2 separate regions of the Homo sapiens genome follow, and region 2 is linked to region 1. The links are contacts of gene promoters, found by promoter capture Hi-C in blood cells and fetal thymus (Javierre and others, 2016). All regions are on one chromosome and are shown on one strand. Each heading gives the region's core, a stretch centred on a gene start or on the middle of the fragment in contact. The rest is flanking DNA. Distances are from core to core; before and after follow the strand shown. Region 1 holds the start of CLCA4 (chloride channel accessory 4). Region 2 overlaps HS2ST1 (heparan sulfate 2-O-sulfotransferase 1).

Region 1 (6,758 bases), core at 1,864-4,363:
TTTGATGTGCTTGTATGGAAATAAATTTTATTATTTCTTTACTGGACAGTATTTTTTAGGTAAATAATTTGATTGCTAAATTTATCAAAGTCTTTAAAATCTTTAATTTGGACCTCAAACCCATCTTAACTAATTTGCTGTTATTTACATTTAACTATCTTATCTCTTCCATTATTTATACCATTGTAATGCTGATAAATTGCTTTGTAAAAATAGAAGACATTAGTATTACTGTATCTGTTCATTTTATTATGGATTTTTATTAATTTTCACATTCTACTCTACAGAAAATATAAAGTATATGTCTATGTTTAGGAAATTCATCAAAATTAGAAAGTATAGAAAATGTGTCCCCAACATACTTAAGGTAATAAAAGCCATCTATGACAAACCCACAGCCAACATTATACTGAACAGGGAAAAGTTGAAAACATTCCCCTTGAGAACTAGAACAAGACAAGGATGCCCACTTTCACCACTTCTATTCAACATAATACTGGAAGTCTTAGCCAGAGCAACAAGACAAGAAAAATAAAGGGCATCCAGATTGGTAAAGAGGAAGTCAAACTGTCACTGTTTGCTGATGACATGATCATATATCTAGAAAACCCTAAAGACTCATCTAAAAAGCTCCTAGAACTGGTCAATGAATTCATCAGAGTTTTGGGATACGAAATTAACGTACACAAATCAGTAGCTCTCCTATATACCAACAGTGACCAAGCTGAGAATCAAATCAAGAAGTCAACCCATTTTACAATAGTGCAAAAAAATTAAAATACTTAGGAATATACTTAACCCAGGAGGTGACAGACTTCTGCAAGGAAAACTACAAAACACTGCTGAATAAATCATACATGACACAAACAAATGAAAACACATCCCATGCTCATGGATGGATAGAATCAATATTATGAAAATGATCATACTGCCAAACACAATCTACAAATCCAATGCAATTCCTATCAAAAACCACCATCATTCTTCACAGAACTAGGAAAACAATCCTAAAATTCATATGGAACCCAAAAGAAGCCTGCATAGCCAAAGCAAGACTAGGCAAAAAGAAAAAACCTGGAGGCATTACATTACCTGACTTCAGACTCTACTATAAGGCCATAGTTACCACCACAGCATGGTACTAGTGTAAAAGCAGGCATATAGACGAATGGAACAGAATATAGAACTTAGAAATAAACCAAAATACTTAAAGTCAACTGATCATCAACAAAGCAAACAAAAACAAAGTGGGGAAAGGACACCCTATTCAACAAATGGTGCTGGCATAATTGGCAAGCCACATGGTGAAGAATGAAACTGGGTTCTCATCTTTTACCTTATACAAAAATCAATTCAAGATAGATCAAAGACTTAAATCTAAAACCTGAAACCATAAAAATTCTAGAAGACAACTTCAGAAGAACCCTCCTAGACATTGGCTTAGGCAAAGACTTCATGACCAAAAACCCAAAAGCAAATGCAACAAATACAAAGATAAATTGTTGGGACTTAGTTAAACTAAAAACCTTCTGTGCAGCTAAAGAAATAATCAGCAGAGTAAACAGACAACCCACAGAATGGGAGAAAATCTCTGCAATCTATACAGCTGACAAAGGACTAATATCCAGAATCTACAACAAACTCAAACAAATCAGCAAGAAAAAAACAAACAGTCCCATCAAAAAGTGGGCTAAGGAAATGAATAGACAATTCTCAAAAGAAGGTATACAAACAGCCAACAAACATATGAAAAAATGCTCAACATCACTAATGATCAGAAAAATGCAAATCAAAACTACAATGCGATACCTCCCTACTCTTGCAAGAATGGCCATAATCAAAAAATCAAAAAATAATAGATGTTGGCATGGATGTGGTGAAAAGGGAACACTTTTACACTGCTGCTGGGAATGTAAACTAGTACAACCACTATGGAAAACAGTATGGAGATTCCTTAAAGAACTAAAAGTGGGCTGGGTGTGGTGGCTTACACCTGTAATCCCAGCACTTTGGGAGGCCAAGGTTGGTGGATCACGAGTTCAGGAGTTCAAGACCAGCCTGACCAACATGGTGAAAACCTATCTCTACTAAAAAACAAACAAACAAACAAACAAATATACAAAAATTAGCCGGGCATGGTGGCACACGCCTGTAATCCCAGCTACTGAGGAGGCTGAGGCAGAAGAATTCCTTGAACCCTGGAGGCGGAGGTTGCAGTGAGCCGATATCGCGCCACTGCACTCCAGCCTGGACAACAGAGTGAGAGTCCATCTCAAAAAAAAAAAGAACTAAAAGTGGAGCTACCATTTGATCCAGCAATCCTAGCAATACCACTCCTGGGTATCTATCCAGAGGAAAAGAAGTCATATATGAAGAAGATACTTGCACACACGTTTATAGCAGCACAATTTGCAATTGCAAAATATGAAACTAGCCCAAATGCTCATCAATCAACCAGTGGATAAAGAAAATGTGATATATATATATACACATATACCTACATACATACACACACACCATGGAATATTACTTAGCCATAAAAAGAAATGAAATAATGGCATTTGCAGCAGCCAATTTCAGAAATGGAAAACCAAACATCATATGTTCTCACTCATGAGTGGGAGCTAAGCCATGAGGATGCAAAGGCATAAGAACGACACAATGGACTTTGGGGACTCGGGGAAAAGGATAGGAGGGGGAGGTGAGGGATAAAAGACTACACATTGGGTACAGTGTACACTGCTCGGGTGGTTAGGTGCACCAAAATCTCAGAAATTATAATTAAAGAACTTATTCATGTAACCAAACCCCACCTGTTACCCAAAAACCTATTGAAAAAAAAAAATCCCTGTTGTCAAGGAGCCCTTAGAATATCAACAATGACAACAATAAAGAAAACGTGTTCCAACAGGAAAATGTGCAATGCATTTTATAAAATGATCTGATTTATTCTGACTCTTAGTCACTTTTATGTAACATATAATTAAGCAATCAGGTGAATTAGTCATGTATTTTCTCATGTAATGTACCTTTATACAGTCAACATCCCATAATCAGCCAATACTGGTAAGTTTTAGGAACGTATATAAAGAGAAAGAAAAGAAAAGCCTCTTGAACAAACCAACATTTGAGCCAGGAATAACTAGAGAGGAACAATGGGGTTATTCAGAGGTTTTGTTTTCCTCTTAGTTCTGTGCCTGCTGCACCAGTCAAATACTTCCTTCATTAAGCTGAATAATAATGGCTTTGAAGATATTGTCATTGTTATAGATCCTAGTGTGCCAGAAGATGAAAAAATAATTGAACAAATAGAGGTAAGAACAAAATGGAATATCTTTCATTAATTTTTAGTTTTTTACTATTATTTTTAATTGACATATAATTGTACATATTTATGGCATACAAAGTAGTATTTCTATACATGTATACAATTTGTAAAGATCAAATCAGGGTAATTAGCATATTCAGCAACTCAAACATTTATCTTTGCATTGTGTCGGGAACATTATAATTATTCTCTTCTAGCTACTTTGAAATACACAACAGATTATCAGTAACTTTAATTTTCCTATTGTACTATCAAATACTAGAACTTATTCTGTCTACATAACTGTGCTTTTGTACACATTGACAAACTTCTCTTCATTTCCTTTCTCTCCCCTATCCTTTGCAGCCTCTAATAAGTATCATTCTACTCTCTATCTCCATAAGATACCCTGGTTTAGTTCCTGCATATGCATAAGAATATGTGGTATTTATCTCTCTGTGCCTGGCTTATTTCATTTAACATAATGTCCTCCATGCTCATCCATGCTGCCACAAATGAAGCAATTTCATTTTTTTCAGTGACTAAGTAGTATTCATTTGTGTTTATATACCACACTTTATCCATTCATCTCTTGATGGACACTTAGGTTGACTTCACATCTTGGCCATCATGAATAGTGCTACAATAAACATGGAAGTGCAGACTGATGTCTTTTCCCTTGGATATATACCCACTAGTGGAATTGCTGAATCATGTGGTCATTCTATTTTTAGATTTTTGAAGAACCTCCATACTGTTTTCCATAATGGCTGTATCAACTTACATTTTCACCAATGGTATATAATAGGTCTCTTTCTCCACATCCTTGTCAGCACTTTTTTTGTCTTTTTGGTAATAACCATTCCAACTGGGCTGAGATGGTGTCTCATTCTGGTTTTGATTTGCATTTCCCTGATGATTAATGATGTTGACCACTTTTTCATATACTTGTTGGACATTTGTTTGTCTTCTTTTGAGAAATGTCTATTCAGATCATTTGCCCATTTTAAAATATTATTATTATTATTACTTTGTCTTTGAGGTTTTTGAGTTTCTTGTATATTCTGGATAATAATCCATTGTTGGATGAATAGTTTGCAAATATTTTTCCCAAGAATTGGGATGTCAGCCAGGCACGGTGGCTCTCATGCCTGTAATCTGAACACTTTGGGAGGCCGAGGAGGGCAGATCATGAGGTCAGGATTTCGAGACCAGGCTGGCCAACATGTTGAAACTCCGCCTTCACTAAAAATACAAAAAATTAGCTGGGCATGGTGGCACATGCCTGTAATCCCAGCTACTCAGGAGGCTGAGGCAGGAGAATTGCTTGAACCCGGGAGGCAGAGGTTGCAGTGAGCTGAGATCACGCCATTGCACTCCAGCCTGGGCAACAGAGCAAGACTCCCTCTCTGGAAAAAAAAAAAAAAAAAAAAAAGAATTGGGATGTCTTCTGTTTGAATTATGGAGAAGAAAACAAAGTTAATAGTTAATAATTATTATGGAAACTTCTGAGTCCTTCAGGAAGTTAAAAGCAGTGTGGTGCAGTGAGGACAATATGGTAATGGGCAGAGGGAGATGAAGGTTTTAGACAGGGTTCTACACTGTGTCACCACAAGACAGAAGACAAGGCACAGGGCTCCCTGACACTGAGTTTCTTGATCTGTAAGTTAGCAGTTGGACTCATTTGTTCTTTAAAGAATTCTTTGTTGAATGTTTATGACATGCTAAAGAGCAGTAAAATTTTTTTAAAGCCTCTGGCACCATGCAGTGTATCTTCTTTTCAGAGATATAGTTAATAAGTAAATGGATCACAGGTCAGATGGTGGTAGTAGGTTGCTGTGGAGTAAAACAAATCAGGAAGGGGGATATGGAGTGTTAGGTGGGGCTGGATTGGGGGAGAATGTGGGTTGCTATTTCATGAGGGAAGTCAGGGAAGGCCTCACTGATGATGTGTCAGCACAGACCTGAGATGAGCGAGAGAAGAGCCCATTGAAAACTAGGGGAGAAAAACAGCATGGAGGTGAGAATTCGTTTGATGTAACCAAGGAAACAGCTATGAATGAGCAGGAGGAAGCATAGGGTGAGCTGAAGTTAGAGAGGTGGCAGGGCCTAGACCACCAGAAAGACTTTGACTTTGACTCTGTGATGAAAATCCATAGGAGGATTCTGAGCAGAGAAGGGTGTGTTCTCATGCATGTTCAGGAATCACTCTGACTGCAATATTAAGGACTGTAAAGAATTTCCACTTGTCACCCATCCTCTATAAACTCTGTGGCAGCTTACTGGTGTAGAAGGACCCCAGGTAGGAAACTCTTGCAGGTGGGCAGTGATGGTGACTAGGAACAGGGAGGTTGTGGTAAAGATTGTTAAAGTGATATGGTGGTTAAGATGTATAGGGGATAGGTGAGGGTAGGAAGGAAATATAATAAGAGTCAAGGAAGAATTCAAGAGTTTTGCTTGAACACTTGGATTGAGAAGGGGAAGACTGTAAGTGGAGAAAATTTGGCATTTGGAAAATCAAGAGTTAGTTGGTTGGGGCTTTTGGAATTTATGTTACTTCTGAAAACATCCATGTAGATGGAGGCAGGAATCTGAATTCATGATGAAGAATGAAAATTTGGGTGTAGATAACTAGGCAAGTACAGATGGAGAAGAGAAAGGCTCCAGGACTAAACCAAGGACACTGATTTCTGTTTCTTTCAAATATAACATTCTATGTAATATAGAGTTTGGTGGTGTAGCCACGTAAATTATTTTTCCCTCTCCCTGATATCAACATATACTAATTCTTTATATTTAATTTCTCCACTACTGTGTTCTGCTGCTTATGGTTGGACCCTTCTGCATGTTTTAATTACCCAGCAGAAGGTGATAGGCATGAACTAAGTTGTAATCAAGTGATTTTGTGGCTGCCATTTGTCATTCACTCTCTATAAACTCTGTTACATCACAAAGATATTTGCTTATAGGTACCTTTTAAATTTCATGAGAAGATAATAATTCATTTTACTAAAGATGTTTAAAGAACAGTTAATGCAGCTAATTCTGAATGATAGGTTTTTAGTGTCCAGAGGACAGTAAATCAGTATCAAACTTTTCTTACTCAGACATCACTATTTGAAAGAATTACTTGGATGGGCAAAAATTTTGTAAACATGGTCCTCTATAAGTACAAGCAGAAATTCAATTGTTTACAGGCATGCCCAGATTTTACAATGTTTCCTGACATTTCTCCCAGCCCTTCACAAAATCTTCGCGTTTAATATCTTCAAGAAACCCTATGAAATACTATAATCCACATTTTACAGAAGAAAAAACTAGGGGTCCGAAAAAAAAAATGATTTTTCTAAGATCATAGTAAGTATCACAGTCAGAGGTAAGAATCGCTTCAACCAAGGAGGCAGAGGTTGCAGTGAGCTGAGATCATGCCACTGCATTCCAGCCTGGGTGA
Region 2 (6,758 bases), core at 1-2,500, 560 kb after region 1:
CAAGTATAACCTAATTAATGAATATTTTCTGGTGGGAGTTACTGAAGAACTTGAAGATTTTATCATGTTATTGGAGGCAGCATTGCCCCGGTTTTTCAGGGGTGCTACTGAACTCTATCGCACAGGTATATAAAGGAAGGGTTTCTTTTTAAAGCTTTCTTTGGTTTGGTTTTTTGGTTTGCAACTTGTAAATATGTGATTTGAAGTTTCTTCAGTGAAACACAACAGATAGCTCCAGAAAGGCAGGTATCTTGTCGGTTTCTGCTCACTATTTTCAATTGAGTAACTGTGAATTAGGTGAAAATTAGAAGGCACTGTAGAAATAGTGGAATGATACAAAGTACAGAACCAGCCATAGAAATGTATGGTATTCAATAATGCCAGATATCAAACATTAGGCCTGTGTATAAGTCCTGCCTACTACCATTTTGAAGTAGAGGTGTGATAGGGGAACTGAAGTATGCCTAAGCCATGTTTTAGCAGCCTCAGCCGTATTATCATGTGTCTGAAAGTGATAAGCTAATTGTGTTTTTGTTTTGTTTCGTTTTTTGCTATTGCTTGATAAGATGCAGTCATAGGAACTCTTCTCCTTGAGGATGCATATGCCCTAGCTTCTAACACATAATTTTAGAGAATACAGATTATGAGAAAATAGAATACAGTTTGACAATAGGTATTTTATCAAAAATAAACTAGTCTCAGAGCACCAAGCACTTGAGAATATAGTGTGTGAGGTGACAGCCTACACTTTACTGTGTGCCAATCCTTACATTGACTATTTGACATTTCATTAAGTCTTTACTAGGTTAAGGATTAACATTCTAAAGGACTGAATCATGGCTCTAGTTTGATCAAGGCTCCGTTTTTACCTGAATTATATAAGACAATTATGTTACCTGTTCTTAATGTGTCATATTAACCACCTCTTCAAATAAAGAGGCATTGATCTTTTGTGTGTTCTCCAAGAATTATTTACCTTTCCTTTTTTTCCCCCTTTGTAAGTAGGAAAGAAATCTCATCTTAGGAAAACCACAGAGAAGAAACTCCCCACTAAACAAACCATTGCAAAACTACAGCAATCTGATATTTGGAAAATGGAGAATGAGTTCTATGAATTTGCACTAGAGCAGTTCCAATTCATCAGAGCCCATGCCGTTCGAGAAAAAGATGGAGACCTCTACATCCTCGCACAAAACTTTTTCTATGAAAAGATTTACCCTAAGTCGAACTGAGTATAAGGTGTGACTATTGGATTCTTGAACTAAAATTTGACCCTGTCTTCACCTTTGTTCTCAGCTCCACAGTCTGGATTGCTGACAGTAGGTGTATATGACAATTTGTATTGAGCCAAATTAGGAAACAGACAGTAACGTCAAGGAAGTAGATACTGGCTGGCATTGTCAGTGTTCTAAGTTTCAGGCATTTTTATTTTTCCTGGCTAAACGTTGGTGAAAGTTATAACCTCCTGCCTGGGAGAAAATATACATCACCTAAAATGAACTTATGGCAGGTCTAATCAAAAGGCTAAATACAATTTCAGAAAAGGTTCTGATACTCTTGTTTTTGATAAAGCATTTTTTCAACTAACCATGAATTAAGATGAGTCCATTTGCCTCTTCTGCCTTCACTGAGGGTTTGGGTTATACACCTCTACTGAATTGTGTTAATAACTGTTTGGCAGTGTGTACTTTGTTTTTGTGAGTCATGTCTCATGAAATTTATTGGAATGTTTAATCATATTTGCTAAGAAATGTTTCTGCTGTAGTTGGATTTGCCCATATTTATGTAGGTGGTTTTAATTTTTTAAATGGTGATTAGTGTTAAAAATCAATTTAAATCATGACTAATATGGTAAAAAGATAAAGCATCAAAGCAGTATTTCTCATTCCTGCCTCCTCAATATCTAATACTGGGAAGATACTTCAAAGAATATTGAGATTGTCTGAAGTTTTAGTTAAGATTTTCACACATTAATATCAAAAAAGTAAGTTTAGTATTTGTTTCTCCATGGGTTATTTGTAAAGCTGTAAACTGAGATATCGGTGACTCCGTATTATGACTCCATTAGTGAGCTGTGGTATGGGTAGGATTTTCCTACTTCTTCTGTACTTTTACCTGTAGACTATTTTTACTAAGGTGCTTTATAATGTGTTTTAAAGCATTGCATTTACAAAACAAGGAAAATGCTGTAAATATTGCATATTTTATGTATTTGGACCAAAAGGTTACAAGTAATTAGACAAAAGTGGTTTTGCACCAATTTTATGTCAAGTAAAACCATCAGACCTACTGTTCTTGTATTTCTCATTTAACTTTACTGTTAAGACATCACTGAAATGAACTTCAGTAAGCTTTCAATTTTGATACACAGTTCATTATTCATAACTTGAGGCAGTAATTACAGTGGAATGAGTACTGGACAAGGAGTCAAAAAACTTGATTTCAGGTCCTAGCTCTAGCACTTACAGCTGTGTGATCTTGGGCAAGTCACTTAACCTCTCTTTGCCTCAATTTCCTCATCTTGAAATGAGGATAATAATACCTGCTGTACCTACCTCACAGGGCTGTTGTGAGGATTAAATGAGATGGCATGTGAAAGCACTTTGAAAATTGTAAAGCGCTATGTAAATGTAAGGTATTATAGAAACATCTTTAACATATAGTTTCATACCATTCATTTTTTAACAAAGAAAGGGAAAAGTCTGCTTGTAAGCTGGTTGAAAAAGTTAATCTTGATATAAATTTGTGTTTGATAAATATCCTCTCAGTGTTTTATCTTCCATGTTTCAACAACTATTGAAATATGAAATGCCTGTGAACTCTTAAAGCTTCATGAGCAGCTGCTTGAGTTCAGGAAGTTCACTGTTAGAAATAGGCTTTGTTAGCTGACTAGGGTCAGGGAAACTTTTCTCTTCAAATTTGAAAGCTGTTTCTGTTTTCATTTTACATTATTATTCAGAAATGGTAGCTATTCTATACCTATGGTTTAAGTAAATATTTCTGAATAAGGCTTCACCATACTGTAAGCATTTTAGGTAGATTGCCTTAAAGGTTATGGGAGGGCATGAGGGAACACTTCTTATGAGAAAACATTTATAAACAAAAGAAACATTTATAAACTAAAGAAAAACTAAAAGAATGACAGAACAATCATCTTAGCACCCTTTCCTCACAATAATATAAAAATATTAAAAGAACATAGGCAGGCTTTTTTTAAATTTGGCTTTTTTCTTTCCTTTTTTCAAATTGACTTTTATAGGTATTTCCTGAAAGTGTATACAAATTATTTCCTCGCCCAAAATAAAGCACCACTTCAAGGTGTGGTTTGACATTACATGCTAATGAACAAACCCAGTATGCAAGTTATTCTTGCACCACATGCTCAAATCTTCTTGAGGTGCATTAACTCTTTTAGGTAACTAGAGCAGTACTTGGTGAACTAGATCAGGAGGTCAGTAAACTTTCTGTGGAAGGGCCAGAGAGTAAATATTTTAGGCTTTGCAGCCCATACGGTCTCTGTCACAGCTAGTCAACCCTGCCATTTTACCACAAAAGCAGCAATAGACATTATGTAAACAAATGAGCACAGTTATGTTCCAATAAAACTTTATTTACAAAAACAGATGACATCCCAGATGCAGACCATGGGCAACCAACCATTGCACTGGCCAAATCATTATTTATGGAGAAATCCTCTTTGTGTCTCTACTCTAGATGCCTAAAAGAGTTTATATACTTCTAAAAGCTCCTAACTTATATCCAAAGAATTGCTTTCTGATTCGTGTAGTCTCTCCCACAGATTCATAAACTTTTATGACTTATATTGTTTCCAGGTGGGCATGGTTTATTTCCCAGTTTAACAGTTCAGAATAGGGGCATTTATTTTATCATATTTTAGGGTGGGTTAGGAGTATCCTTTCTGGAGACTGAGAAAGGGGTGTATTTAATTCCATCAGGTCCAGTACAGTACTAGGAGTCATAATACTTTATAATCAATTAAATAAATAGAACCACTGAGACAATAATGTATTTTTTTAAAGTGGCAAATGTGGTTTTCTTTTTTCAGCCTTTGCGCTTTTTCAGTATTTTGACCATAGGGAGATAATTTTTTTATAATACAAAAGTAACCACTTGGAATTTTAAAGATAATGTTATGTGTGTATGTGAAATATATATACATATATATATATATGTTTATTTCCTAAAAGAAGAAAAGATACCTTTCTGTTCAACTTGTATCAACTCCTCTTTTCTAATTGCTGTGAAATGGCAACTGTTGATAAATTATTGTGATTGTTTTAAAATCTAATGGGAAGTAAAATATATTTTGATTTTACCCAGCTTAATCTGTAAAGTAGCACTTAAATATATCTGATAGCAACACTTAAGATATTGCATGGGGATTACTTTCCTATCATCCATATGCATTTGTGCAACTTCAAACATATTGGGTGCTTCTGAATTCCTGATGATTGGATTTAAGCTATTGAAAATTGGATAATTTAAACTTAATGATTTTTATAATTTTCTGATCTTAAAATTTGGTTAATGCCTATAATCTGTTGCTTTTTCTCAATATGTGTCCTATTGGAAATTCCTCAAATCGTTGGTGCCATCAGTGATTTACAAACAATATTTTGATATTGCAGATGACTTGCTTACTGTATTTGCATTGTTAGAAAACAGTTTGTAGACAATGATTCTTTTTTAATAAAATCAAATAATTCTAAAAGTGCTAGAGAATTTAACTAAAAGCTGGTTCCCAAATGCATAGCTGGCATTTTAATTTAAATTCAAATCTACATAGAGAACATCTGTGTAAATCATCTAACTGGATTTTTCCATTGGTCATTCCCAAACACACCTATGGTCCTAGAATCCTTAAGAGAAGCACCCTGTAACCTTTTATGTGGTTTGCCTTTAAGAGGCCCAGGTGCTTCTCCTTTATGATTTGAGTTGGCCTCTTCATAAATTAGTGCTGTTTACTTTCAGAGGAAGCAGAGAAGTTGCTGTTATGTTTTTGCATCCGTTTACCCTATGCAAAGTTGCTGTATGATGCCAACTAAACTACTCTTTAGGCAGCCTTCTGAGGAGAAAAGCAACCCTGTTTCAAATCCACTGCCAATTCAGCTCCTCTGGAGTGGAGCTTTCTGATTTCTTGGAGCAGGAATTTTAGAGATTGAAATGAATGATCATTTAGTCAGATTTATCCTGTAATTTCATGCAGCTTTGTGGCCTTTGCAGTACTATTTATAAAATGGACCCTGATGGTGATGAACTCTTTAGAACGCATTACTGTTAAGCCTGTGTTGAGACATTGATGCTGTCTATCTCATTTTTTAGACAGTTTTTGTAGCTTTCTATTGAGAGTCAGGTATGTGAGCATCTCTGAAGCAGTGTTGAATGTAATTTTCGGAAACATGGATTGTGTATTTTGACTTTTATTTTATAAATACACAGCTCAACAGTGCCTTTTTTTTCCCTCATAGTCCTGTTGGAAGATGCTCACTACTTTCTCTCTTCTCTCTCCCTGCCCTCCCCCACTCCATTCAGTTGATTCATTTATGCAAATTCTGTTTCCAACTTGAAACCATTTTGTCACATCTGTTGGAGAGATAATCACTCCTTTTCCTTAACATTCTGCCAGCTTTCTGATGTTGAAGTGTTTCAGTTGACTACCTGATGCAAAAGCTATAAAATAAACAGTGGGAAGGGGAAAAATTGGTGTCCTGTTTTAATATTTTCTTTTGTAGCCTTGACACTGATGGACATTTTCCAAGCTGACTCAGTGTTCAGTGTCAACTTAACTCTCAGATAGTGTTGCCATCAAGAAAGCATGCAACATCATTGGTTTCTAATGATTTTATGGCTTGTGACAATATTTTATCTGGACTGACATGCCTCTGCTGCTTTTGCTTTGTACTTCATTGCTGGTAATAAAATTTCAGATGGAAAACTTACAAAATATATACTTAATTAGAAGAAAAAAATAGAGAAAGGGCTATTAGAATTAAAAAAATTTGAAAGTAACTTAATCTAACATTTATGGCACAGTTTGGACATATCCATAATTTTTTTTGGGAACACACATTTCTGATTTTTTTTTTCCCCCTTAAAGAAGAAAGTCTCAATTCCATTGATTTTCAATTCTTAGCCACTGGCTCATTGCTTTGAGCAATGCTTGATTGATTCTATTTATATTATATGATATTGGGTTGATAAAATACCAGTTCAATGATGAGTTTTCTTAACAGAATTTGGTTTGTACTTGCAGTGGCTGAACAAAGAGCATGGCTTGAGAATCAAAGGGATCTGCATTTAGCAATGTGATGTCAGTAAATGGACATAACAGGATTGTTGTAAAGGTTGGGCATGATGTATGCAAAGTACTGGCCAGGGTAGACTAATAACTGATGGCATTTATATGCTGTGCTGGAATATTGTTACCAAGCTGATGTGCCGTTCTCACCCTGCAGAATACTGGTTTTGTCATTTCATAAATGATATTTTTATAAATATTTTTGAATGACTGTACTTTTTACTGATTATCTTAATACCGCCTCACTTATGTACCTGTAGCATAAATATTCCTGGTTCTGATTCTTGCTGTTCTTTCCACATACAAATCACTCATTTGTACAGATTAAAGGGGGGAAACGCTGACTGTTCTAAAGAAGATAGGACTTGCTTATTCCAGAAATGACTGAGTTCATATCTTAGTATATTTGAACAGTAAGGACTGCTAAATAGTACACACA

The links. Contacts are between HindIII fragments. The CHiCAGO score rates a contact against its expected background, and 5 or more counts as called.
Region 2: a contact is called between a fragment that was not itself captured here and the fragment with the promoter of CLCA4 in region 1, in 1 of 17 cell types (naive CD8 T cells). The highest score is 5.2, in naive CD8 T cells.

What each region holds. Positions count from the first base shown.
Region 1 is chr1:86,543,965-86,550,722 of GRCh38, forward strand. CLCA4 (chloride channel accessory 4) reads left to right here and starts at 3,114. Exons shown (of 14, transcript NM_012128.4): 1 at 3,114-3,314. The coding sequence starts at 3,156. The HindIII fragment of the contact is 9,510 bases long and covers 1-6,758 here.
Region 2 is chr1:87,103,465-87,110,222 of GRCh38, forward strand. It overlaps HS2ST1 (heparan sulfate 2-O-sulfotransferase 1), which reads left to right. Exons shown (of 7, transcript NM_012262.4): 6 at 1-125; 7 at 1,006-6,518. The coding sequence ends at 1,232. Among named protein-coding and RNA genes, the nearest start is that of LINC01140, 23 kb to the right of the region's middle. The HindIII fragment of the contact is 2,197 bases long and covers 153-2,349 here.